2 separate regions of the Homo sapiens genome follow, and region 1 is linked to region 2. The links are contacts of gene promoters, found by promoter capture Hi-C in blood cells and fetal thymus (Javierre and others, 2016). All regions are on one chromosome and are shown on one strand. Each heading gives the region's core, a stretch centred on a gene start or on the middle of the fragment in contact. The rest is flanking DNA. Distances are from core to core; before and after follow the strand shown. Region 1 has its middle 14 kb from the start of SKIC8. Region 2 holds the start of HYKK (hydroxylysine kinase).

The links. Contacts are between HindIII fragments. The CHiCAGO score rates a contact against its expected background, and 5 or more counts as called.
Region 1: a fragment that was not itself captured here is called in contact with the fragment with the promoter of HYKK in region 2 in 3 of 17 cell types (megakaryocytes, M2 macrophages and M0 macrophages); the score reaches 7.5 in megakaryocytes.

What each region holds. Positions count from the first base shown.
Region 1 is chr15:78,311,477-78,316,616 of GRCh38, reverse strand. No RefSeq gene overlaps it. Among named protein-coding and RNA genes, the nearest start is that of SKIC8, 14 kb to the right of the region's middle. RefSeq lists an enhancer at 820-869. The HindIII fragment of the contact is 6,688 bases long and covers 1-5,138 here.
Region 2 is chr15:78,505,903-78,510,981 of GRCh38, reverse strand. It overlaps HYKK (hydroxylysine kinase), which reads right to left and starts at 3,405. Exons shown (of 5, transcript NM_001013619.4): 1 at 3,311-3,405. The HindIII fragment of the contact is 14,973 bases long and covers 1-4,815 here.

The DNA.
Region 1 (5,140 bases), core at 545-3,044, 190 kb after region 2:
CTCTCAGCTGTCTCTGGTTAAGCCTGTTAGATCTGGTTCTGTCTGAAGAGATGCGCACAGGCTGCTTTCCACCCAACACCCATCCCAAGGCCTGTTCCAGGCCCCTTTTGTCCCCCAGGCAGCAGAGGCCTAGCGACAGGCCTCATTCATCTTCCCACTGAGTCCAGAGACAAAGGGCTTAATGTGTGTGCAGATGGGCCTGCCCCTCCATCATCCCTCACAACCAGTGTCCGATAATGTGCCTCCAATGAGTCTCCCGTGGCCACCCTCTGACCAGGGGGTGGCTGGGCAATGACACATGCAAACACAGGGACTGGATGACAAAGCAAGCCTTGAGGGGGCATGGCGGGGGGCAGGGCATGATCACAGCCCCACGGAGAATCCCATAAGTCATTTCTGATGGGGATACATTAGGCCTCTCAAAGAGCACTTGCCCCTGAACACTGAGCTGCCAAATTAATTGACAAGGGACCTTTACAGGCAGCTCCTAGAGAGCAGGAACCCCTGTCCCCAGAGGCCCGGCCCAAGAAGCTGTCGTTTTCTGAGAGGAAAGAATTGTGCCCTGTCTGGCCAGAGCTCAGTACCCTTCTGGGCTGAGTGAGACCCTGGCCACTGCAGAGGGTCGCATGTATGTGTGATCAAGGAAATTGGGTCCCAGAGAGAGCAGTGATGTGCTGTAAGCACACAGCACATAGGTGGTGGAGGTAAGGCTGGAACCTAGGTCTCCTGACTACTCTGCCAAGCCCTTTCCCTCCCTCTTGTGGCCAAGCCCCTGAGTGCTGCAGAGGGCTCTGACTGCCTAGTCGTAGGTCCTCCCCACCCTCGTGGCAGGGCTTCTAGGGGTCAGGGGGAGAGTCCTCAGCCCCTGTTCTCCCACAGAGCCTGAGCCTGGCCCTGGTGAAAACACTGATGACCCCCCTCCTTTTTTATTTTTTTAGAAACAGGATCTTGCCTTGTCACCCAGGCTGGAGAGCAGTGGCAAAATCATGGCTCACAGCAGCCTCAAACTCCTGCCTCAGCCTCCCAAATAGCTGGGACCACAGGTGCATACCACCATGCCTGGCTAATTTTCTTATTTTTTATAGAGACAGGGTCTTGCTATGTTGCCCAGGCTGGTGTTGAACTCCTGACCTCAAGCAATCCTTCTGCCTCAGTCTCCCAAAGTTCTGGGATTACAGACATGAGCCACTGAGCCAGCCTAAAGCCCCCTTTAAAATGCAGACACAGAGCAGGAAGAGTGGCAGAAAGGATGGAAGGAGTGCCAGCAGCCAGGAAGCCATAGCTGGCCACTCACGGAAAGCCAGAGCACAGTACTAGAGACACAGAAGGCTGTGGATGGGAGTGGGCATCTGGGGACTAGGCTCACATCCCCACTCTGCCCTGGCCCTCTTGGGGATCTTAGGTCAGCCATGTCCTTCCCTGAGACCTTACCTTTCAGCAGAATGAAAGACTCAAAACAGGAAGCAATGATCCTATCACTATTCGCTCCCGTTTATCAAGCACTCTCTGTAAGCCAAGCACTGCGCTAAGTGCTGCTGAGTCCTTGTCTTATTAATCTTCGTAACAGACCCAAGAAGAAATTGTCTTCATTTTACAGGTGAGGCTGGGCACGTGGCTCACACCTGTAACCCTAGCACTTTGGAAAGTCAAGGTGGGAGGATCGCTTTAGGCCAGAAGTCCAAGACCAGCCTGGGCAACACAGTGAGACCCTGTCTCTACAAAATAAATAAAAACTAAAATTTTTAAAAATACAGATAAGAAAACAGAGTTTCAATAGCTAAAGTTACTTTTCTTACAAGTGGCTGAGCCCAGGTTAGAACCCAACCTCGGGGCATGCTCCTGGCTTAGGGACAAGGATAAGAGGGGACCAGAGAACAGACAGAGAATTCCAGAGGCCCAGGTTCAGCCAGGAAGCGCAGGTCAAAGTGGGTCCCGAGTGGGGAGGCCCATTAGCCACCAGGCCCCTTGGCCCCTGGAGAGAGGCACAGCGCAGAGGGAAACAGCCCACCTCCCCGCAGGTCTTGCTGAAGACCCTCCATTCCCCTTCTGAATCTCTACCTCCAGCCCCTCCCACAACTGGGTCCCTTTGGCTCCTCCTGTAGGAGTAGCCTCACCCAGGTGGCCTTAATCTGGTGGTCATGGAAATTTCAACAGCCCTGGGCCCGGAGCCCAGCCTGCTCTGCCCTGCTCCCCAGAGCCCCTTTCTAGTTACATGTCCTGGAGCTAGGTCATGGGGCTGGGTCACCTCCCTTCAGCATCTAGAGACCCCGCTAGTCTGTCACCCGAGTGCATCTAATCCTGAGGCTCCCCCTCCTTCCTCTCAGAGTGGCTTTGTCCATCTCCACTCCAGGACCCGACAGGAGGAGCATAGAAAGAGCCCGTGAAGAACCCCGGACTGAGATGGCTGAGGGCTGGGGCCTCGGAGAAGGATTCCCAGGGCATTGGATGGCCACCTGGATTTGGAGATTCACAAAGGAGGGACATTGTTTGATGGGAGAGGAGGCAGATCATAAGGAGTGTGAGCATTGAGGCCAGAGAGGAGGGCCTCACGCCAGCCCACAGCCCTGAAAAGCCCATAGGATGCTGCCTGGATCTTAGAGTTGTGCACAGCAGAAGCCCCCAAGATCTGGTTGCTGAGAGTGGGGAGGTACAGGGCGGAGATCCTGTTGTGGGTTGGGTAGATATCGGAGGGTGAAGGAGTCCAGCATTGGAGCTGTCCTGGTTCGAAGATTCCTTCAGTCTTCTGCAGTCCTCCCGACCACAGCTCAGCAACAGGAGCAGGCTGGTGTTGAGGGGCGGCTGGGGCACCACACTGTGCTGCTGGGGCCCACTCTGCCTGCCCTGCATTTGGCTGTCCAGCTGTGGCTTGTACATCCCCTGGGACTGGAGGCTTATACCTCCAAGGCAGCCCCTACTCCTGTGGCATGGTTCAACCTGTGAGAAAGACCCTTCTTCCTATGAGTCCAGGTGCTTCTCTGTGGCCTGTCCCTAGAGCCTGGCCCCGTTCGAGGTCAGAGACTATATGCATTCCCTCGGACCAGCATAGCCTGACTGAGGTCTGCCCAGCAGGCCCAGCACCCACCCCGCCTCTGCCTCCCCGGTCTCTGCAGGCCAAGGATGCTGCTATTTTTTAGCCATTCCGTGGAGTATGACCTCCTCATCCCCCCGAAACACTGCCTCTCCTCTAGGACCTCAGCTCGGCAGGATCCCTGTCCTCCTGACTGAGTGCTCAGAGCGGATATTCTGCAGTCTAGGGGCCTCTATTACTTGGTTTCCCGTTCCCCACTGATTTGGCAGGAGCCTGGAATTGAAGTCCGTGGAGGATCTGGGTCAGTTTCTTTACATCTAGAGCTTTGCTCAGAGAATAACTCAGTTCTTCAGGCACAAGACACCCCCAATAGCAGTTACCCCCTACACCAATGTGATGAGTTCCCACAGACACCCCAGCCCACCCAGCACAGGCCCCTCACTGACCTCCCAGCCTCCAACAGGTCCCCTGGTTCCTGGCCTTCTCCCGACGGCTGCAAAAGGCTCTTTGGAGTGTCCCTATTCCACACCCCTTCTCACCCCTCAAGAAATCATCTCTGAAGGCAAGGGAATGAGAACTTTATTTGCACACCAAAAAAAAAAAATTGGCCGAATTTATCAAAACAGTGGATTATTTGCAATCATGGGTGCTTGGAAACTGTCTTAGCCTGGATTCCCCCTAAAGCAGAGCCTGAGACAAAGACCCCAAGCAGGGAGCTGTCTTAGGAATTCAATCCCAGAGAGCAGGAGTGAGGGGCAGGGGCGGAACAAAGGAAGAAGCAAAAGCCAGATCAAGGATGCACTGCTGAGTTGGCCACCAGCGCTGAAGGGCCTGTGTCAAGCATCTCAGAACTGTCCCTCAGGGGCCAAAGGGGGAAATATTTACTCATCAGCTTCAATCTCCCATTGGTCAAGGCTGTCCCACAGGCAACAATTCTTCTGGGTGAATGTGGAGTGATTCCCAGGGCAGGAAGATAGAGGTGGAGACTGGGGGAGGGGAGGTGCTGTCAGCTCACGCTTGGGCAGAGCTGGTTGAAACTTGTGCAGAACGGACCCCAGGGTAGTGGCTGTACTAAGAGAGAAGAGGCTGAGAAGATGTGACGTGATGCACATAAGCTGTCCTATGCAGTAGTCAGCTTCATCGCGTGTGACACAGGCAGCTCACAGCTAATGTGACAAGTCAGTGGGAAGGACACCATGGTCAAGAACAGCTGAAGTGGATCAGAAGGTCAAAACTGGAAGGAGGCTGGGCGTGGTGTCTCACGCCTGTAATCCCAGCACTTTGGGAGGCCGAGGCGGGAGGCTCACTTGAGGTCAGGTGTTTGAGACAAGCCCGGGCAACACAGGGAGACCCTATCTCTACAAAAATAAAAATAAAATAAATTAGCCAGGCATGGTGGTGCACACCTGTAGTCTCAGCTACTCAGGAGGCTGAGGTGGGAGGGTCGCTTGAGCCCTGGAGTTTGAGCTGCAGTGACAGTGATCACGCCACTGCACTCCAGCCTGGGTGACAGAGCAAGACTCTGTCTCAAAACAAAAACTGAAGGAGTCCCAGAGCCAATGGACTCACGGGACAGACAGCTAGGGAAACTGAGGTCCAGAGAGGGTTCAGGCAGAGGCAGGCTAGAGAGTCTCCCTTTCAGAGCCAGAGATGGTTCCTGAGGCCATCTGGGTGACTTGCCAGCTTCATGCCTGGCACACACTTAATGATCAAAACTAGGAATGATATCAACAGTGACAATAACAGTAATGGCTCCTGATGTGAGGTTCCGTGTTCTGGCTGCTAAGCCCCTCGGCCTCCAGGGGCACTTTGGGCGTAACTGCACAGCAAGGTCTCCACATGCTTTCATTCTTCTGCTATTAATTTTAGTGCAATGGCAGTCAAGGAGTAAAAGCAGTGCTTTCACCTGGATATGCCAGCTCTGGCACCAGGATGCACTGGAGACTCACATCTAATGGGGGGCCTGGACCTCAGCTCTCTCTCTGAGTTAAGGGCAGTGTGTGGAAGGAGCTTTGTGGTGAGGCTGTTCTAAAGCTACCTTTGGCTTCTTGAATTCCCTTTGTCCTTCAGAAGTGCATTCGATACAGGAGTCCTGGGACTTTCCCAAGCTTA
Region 2 (5,079 bases), core at 2,156-4,655:
AAAAAAAAAAAAAAAAAAAAAAAGAATCTCATGAAGAGTTAGCTTTTGTGGAAAGTGGAAGATGTATTGCTTCTGACAGGGAAGGGGCATGAGAGAACTTTCTGAGAGGCAAGTGTTCTACATCTTGATTAGGCTTTGGCGACATGGCTTACATTTGTCAAAACTTAACTTAAAACCTAAGTAAACTAGTAAGATCTGTGAATATCACTGAATGTAAAATTTACCTCTAAAAAAGAAAGAGCGCTTCTGAGAAATTGGCTAGGACAGAGGAGGTGGATCTTAGGACTTTCTTGGAACTCTAAAAATCAGACCATATGCCTGTTAATGCCTAATTTATTTGGCTGTATCATAGCAAAAACCCACCTAACTCCAGTGAGGGAAAGGGGATAACATTCAGGGAGATATACCAGAAATCTCCTATATGACCCCCTCCCTGCCTCAGTCCTAGGACTATGGCCTGATGACTCAAGTTAAAATAAGGGTAGGTAAAGACAGTGGTTCACGCCTGTAATCCCACCACTTTGGGAGGCTGAGGTGGGTGGATCACCTGAGGTCAGGAGTTTGAGACCAGCCTGGCCAACATGGCGAAACCCCATCTCTACTAAAAATAAAAATAAAAATAAAAAAAAAATTAGCCGGGCATGGTGGCCGGCGCCTATAATTCCAGCTACTCAGGAGGCTGCGGCAGGAGAATCACTGGAACCCAGAGGGGTGGAGGTTGCAGTGAGATGAGACTGCGTCACTTCACTCCAACCTGGGCGAAAGACCAAAATTCCATCAAAAAGAAAGAAAAGTAAAGAAAAGAAAGAAAAGAGAGAAGAGAGAGCAAGAGAAAGAAGAAAGAAAGAAAGAAAGAAAAGAAAGAAGAAAGAGAGAGAGAGAAAGAAAGAAAAGAAAGAAAGAAAAAAAAAGAGAAGAGAAAATAAGGGAGAGGTAACCCTCAAACGCTAACCACCCCCTAGCCCCTGCCATGGCCTTCCCTGATCCTCCTACCCAAAGTGATTGCTCCAGCCTCTTAACTTGCATAGCTTGTGCCACTGATCGGTTTCCATCACCTGTTACTGCAAGTTAATGCCTTCTTGACAATCATGTTTCCTGTTTACTTTCTAACCAGGCATTTGCTTTCAGAAGCAAGTTAAGCCGTTCAGATTTTGTTCACTGAAGGTACTGTGACAAAGCCTAAATGGAGTTTCAAAACAATCTTTGCACTTGAAACTTCTGGGAACCAACATATCCTGTCACACTGTATTTAGGCTTAAAACTTTACAAGGAATTTTAACATTCTTTCTGGAGATATGTAAACTGGTATAAGGTAAGTATTCAAAATGCAATATGGACTGAAGCATTAACTCCAAGATGAAATCCTGGAGTCATTTTCAACTCCCAAAGCGTTAACGATGTCAGAACAATTCTGAATTTGAAATGAATGATAAGTTCTTAAAGTTGTAAGGAACCTTAGAGGCAACTGGTGAAGGCCAATCTCCTTTCTATTCCAGATGTTCCCATACAATCTTTGACTTGTTAAGCTCCTCTTAGGAGAGCGCTGTTTTCCATAGCCATGTAAAGCAAGGTTGTTAGCTCTGGCCATCCAAATAGACTGATGTAATAAAAGGCTGTGCTGGGAGAAATAGGACATATTTTAGTCCCAGTTCTGCTACCTAACCTCTGAAACTCTGGACTAGTCATGTCTCCTCTAAAACAGAGTTGGATTAGATTATTACTAAAAGTCTCCTCTAGCTCTAGTATTCCATGCCACTAAAGTTCTTTAAGTTCGCCTTTTTTCTTTATATAAGCGCTCCATATCATAGAACTAATGGCACAGATCAAGTCAACTCTTGAGAGTAAATAAAAACAAAGAAAAAAATATGTTTATCAGACATGTCTGTCTTAACCAAATGTCTCCTTTGTATGGAGGGGAATTTTTTTTTTTTTGTTTTTGAGACAAGGTCTCTGTCACCCAGTCTGGAGTACAGTGGCACAATCACTGCTTACTGCAGCTTCCAACTCCTGGGCTCAAGGGATCCTCCCACCTGAGCTTCCCAAATAGCTGGGACTGCAGGCAGGTGCCACCATGCCTGGCCTTTTTTTTTTTTTTTTTTTTGGAGAGAGAGGGTCCCACTATGTTGCCCAGGCTGGTCTCGAACTTCTGGGCTCAAGCAATCCTCCTACCTTGGTCTCCCAAAGTGCTGGGATTACAGGTGCAAGCCATCATGGCTGTCTTTTTGATTTTATTATTTTTATTTTTTTAGAGACAGTGTCTCGCTATGTTGCCCACTCACACATTTTTAAAAATTATTAACTTTTTTTCCTACTTCATTGAAAGGGAGAGGAGGAATTCAGGTACTATAGGCTGTTGGTCTATATATCCGGCCAACAGTATTTAGCTCCTGAAAAAGCCCGCAGGAAGCAAGTGTGATTTCCAACTCCAAGATCTGCGTCAGAATCTCACCACCTTTGTCCTGCAGCCGGGAGGGGGCTGGAACTTAAGCTCTGTACTTTGTGCAAAGTATACCAGACAAGAAACAGGAGTCATTCTTGATTCTTTCCTGTCCCTCACTCCCAACGTGTAACAAAGTCTAGTAAATTCTACCTTAGCATGTCTTCCAACTCTACCTTTCTTCTCCTACATTCCCTTTTGCTGCGTCCTTCCAAGGGATTATACCCAGTCAATCTCTGTATTCTCAGCCCCTAGGCTAGTCCCTTATTTAATATTAAATGGTGAACCAAGGGTGACCTTCATTCCACAGACTCACGGGGCAGTTCAACCCCAAGGGGATCATGAAACAGAAAGGTGGGGAATCTAGCATCTGCAGTTTTTCAAAGACAACAGTGCATTACTAGGTGCTTTTAAGGGTCTTCCTGGTGGGTGAAGGGGAAAAAGTGGTGGGTGAGCGGGCTGCAGAGGGGCTGCTGAACCAAGAGGCAGGAAAAGAGAGGAGGAGGGCGCATGAGTAAGTGAGGTTCAGCGGAGCTCAGAGACTGCTCCCAGTAGACACCGGCCAGGCGCCGGCACAGCCCTCGGCCAGCGACCCCACACAGACCCGGGAGGGCTGGCCTCGACAGCTTCTCGGGTGCCACGCTTTCATTCTGGGGGCCCAGCTCAGCCCTCCTAGGTTACAGGTGAGGTCCGGGAAGAAGGGTGACTTGCCCATCACGCACGCAGCGAGCTGAGGATAGCGCGGGCTGGAGGAGCCTGAGGCATAGGACTCCCGGCTCCACACTTGCAGCGAGCCTCCCTGCCCTCGGGGGCGACCCCGACTCCCGCAGCGGGGACGCAGGGCTCGTCTCTGCTTCCCCCTCCTTGGCTCACCGGCAGCGACCCGACGTCCTGGGGTGGATCCCGCTTTCCCGCAGACAGGTAGTGCGGCCTCGGCCGCGCACCGGCGCTAGGAGGTAGAGCAGGGGCCGCAGCGCCCGCGCCCCTCCTCCAAGCCCCGCGAGTCCTGACTTCTGATTGGCTCCTCCCGGTCCCTCGCCGCCCAGTCAGCGCAGACTACTGGATTTTTTTCCCGGCCCCGCCTAGGAGGCTGCGAACAGAAATTCAGAGATTCGGCTTCTGTTGACTTTCTGCAACTCCGCCCAGCCTTCTCACAGTGAGTATCCCAGTCAGAATCCGGCTACCTTTTCATGAACCGGACTCCTTATTCCTGATTGGCTCTCCGGGTTGCCGCCCCACCCCGAGTGGGCAGGCTTTCGGCTCTTGAGTGGCACCTCCGAGTTTCGCAGGGTCCACGTTGTCGTGGCGGTAACACTGACAGCTCCTCACCCGCATCCACGTTTTTGTTTCCTAGCCTTCATTCCTTCTGTTGGAGGCACGTATCCTGGAAGTGATACGCTTAGAAAGCGTGGCCCCAGAGAGACTCGCAATCCCAGCCCCAGGAACTGTAAGGGTCCTGATTGGAAGGCCTGAGTAAGGCCTGGCTGCGTTCCGCAGGAGGATGCTGGAATGTTAGAACCCGAACAGTTTAGGCAGGGCGCAGATGGCTCACGCCTGTAATCCCAGAAATTTGGGAGACCGAGGCGGGAGGATCACCTGAGGTCAGGAGTTCGAGACCAGCCTGGCCAACATGGTGAAACCCCTCTCTACTAAAAATACAAAAATTAGACTCAGGGGGTATGTCTGCAGCTGCAGAAAGATGTATGGGAACAGACACACAACTCTCCCTCCGAGATAAGCACAACAAAGAGACACAGAAGCAGTCCAAGCCTCTGATAAACTCTCCCACTCCGAATCCTTAAAAACTTACTTAGTCTGTAAGAGAGTGTGCCTCTGACCTAACTTGGCCAGACGCCCCTCTCAGGTTTTCTCTAAAATAAACCTCTTATGACCACCAAGCCACTTTTCGTGTTTCTTTCCTCTTTCTTTAATTCTTACACCGAGTAGTTGGGATTACAGGGGCCCACCACCACGCCTTTATCTAGGTAGTGGAATCAGTGGGCTCTCTTTCTGCAGGAAAGTCCGCAGAGACCCCATGATTTTCAGAAAGCTGCACGAGATTCATGGAGTAACAGCCAGGTTAGTTGGATGGTCTTAACTGTTAAGGGCATGAGGCGCTGATAAACAGCTTGATGCCCTTCTCCAGCCAAGCAGGACTTCTCCGATAAGTCAGAGCCCTCTATCTACTGTAGGCTACTGGAAGAGAGTCCTGGGTACTGGTCCACTCATGCCTGCAAATTGGTTTCTTATTTTGTTTTTGCCAATGCACATCCACCCTTTGTTTTCTGTCAGGATATAACACACTCGGATTATCTATAGTCACCCTGATTAACTTGGATGATTCCCAGACCCCTATCAACCACCTACTGAGGGAAGCTTCTTCTCCTGCTTTAGATATGGTTCTTACCTGCTTCACTTCTAATCTCCAAAAGGCAGGGCTGTTTTTCACAACCCCAGGGGAACATAATTAATATCTCATTCCTTTAGATTGTCAAAGAGTGATTTTGACTTGGATTTTTCTGTAACCAGAATTGGAATCCTATTGGCTCCCTTAGGCCCCTCTGCATGCTTTTTGCCTTGAGTGGCTTCTGAGTTATTTCCACCTGTCATTATTCCAGCTCTACTGGTCTTTCTCTACTTCT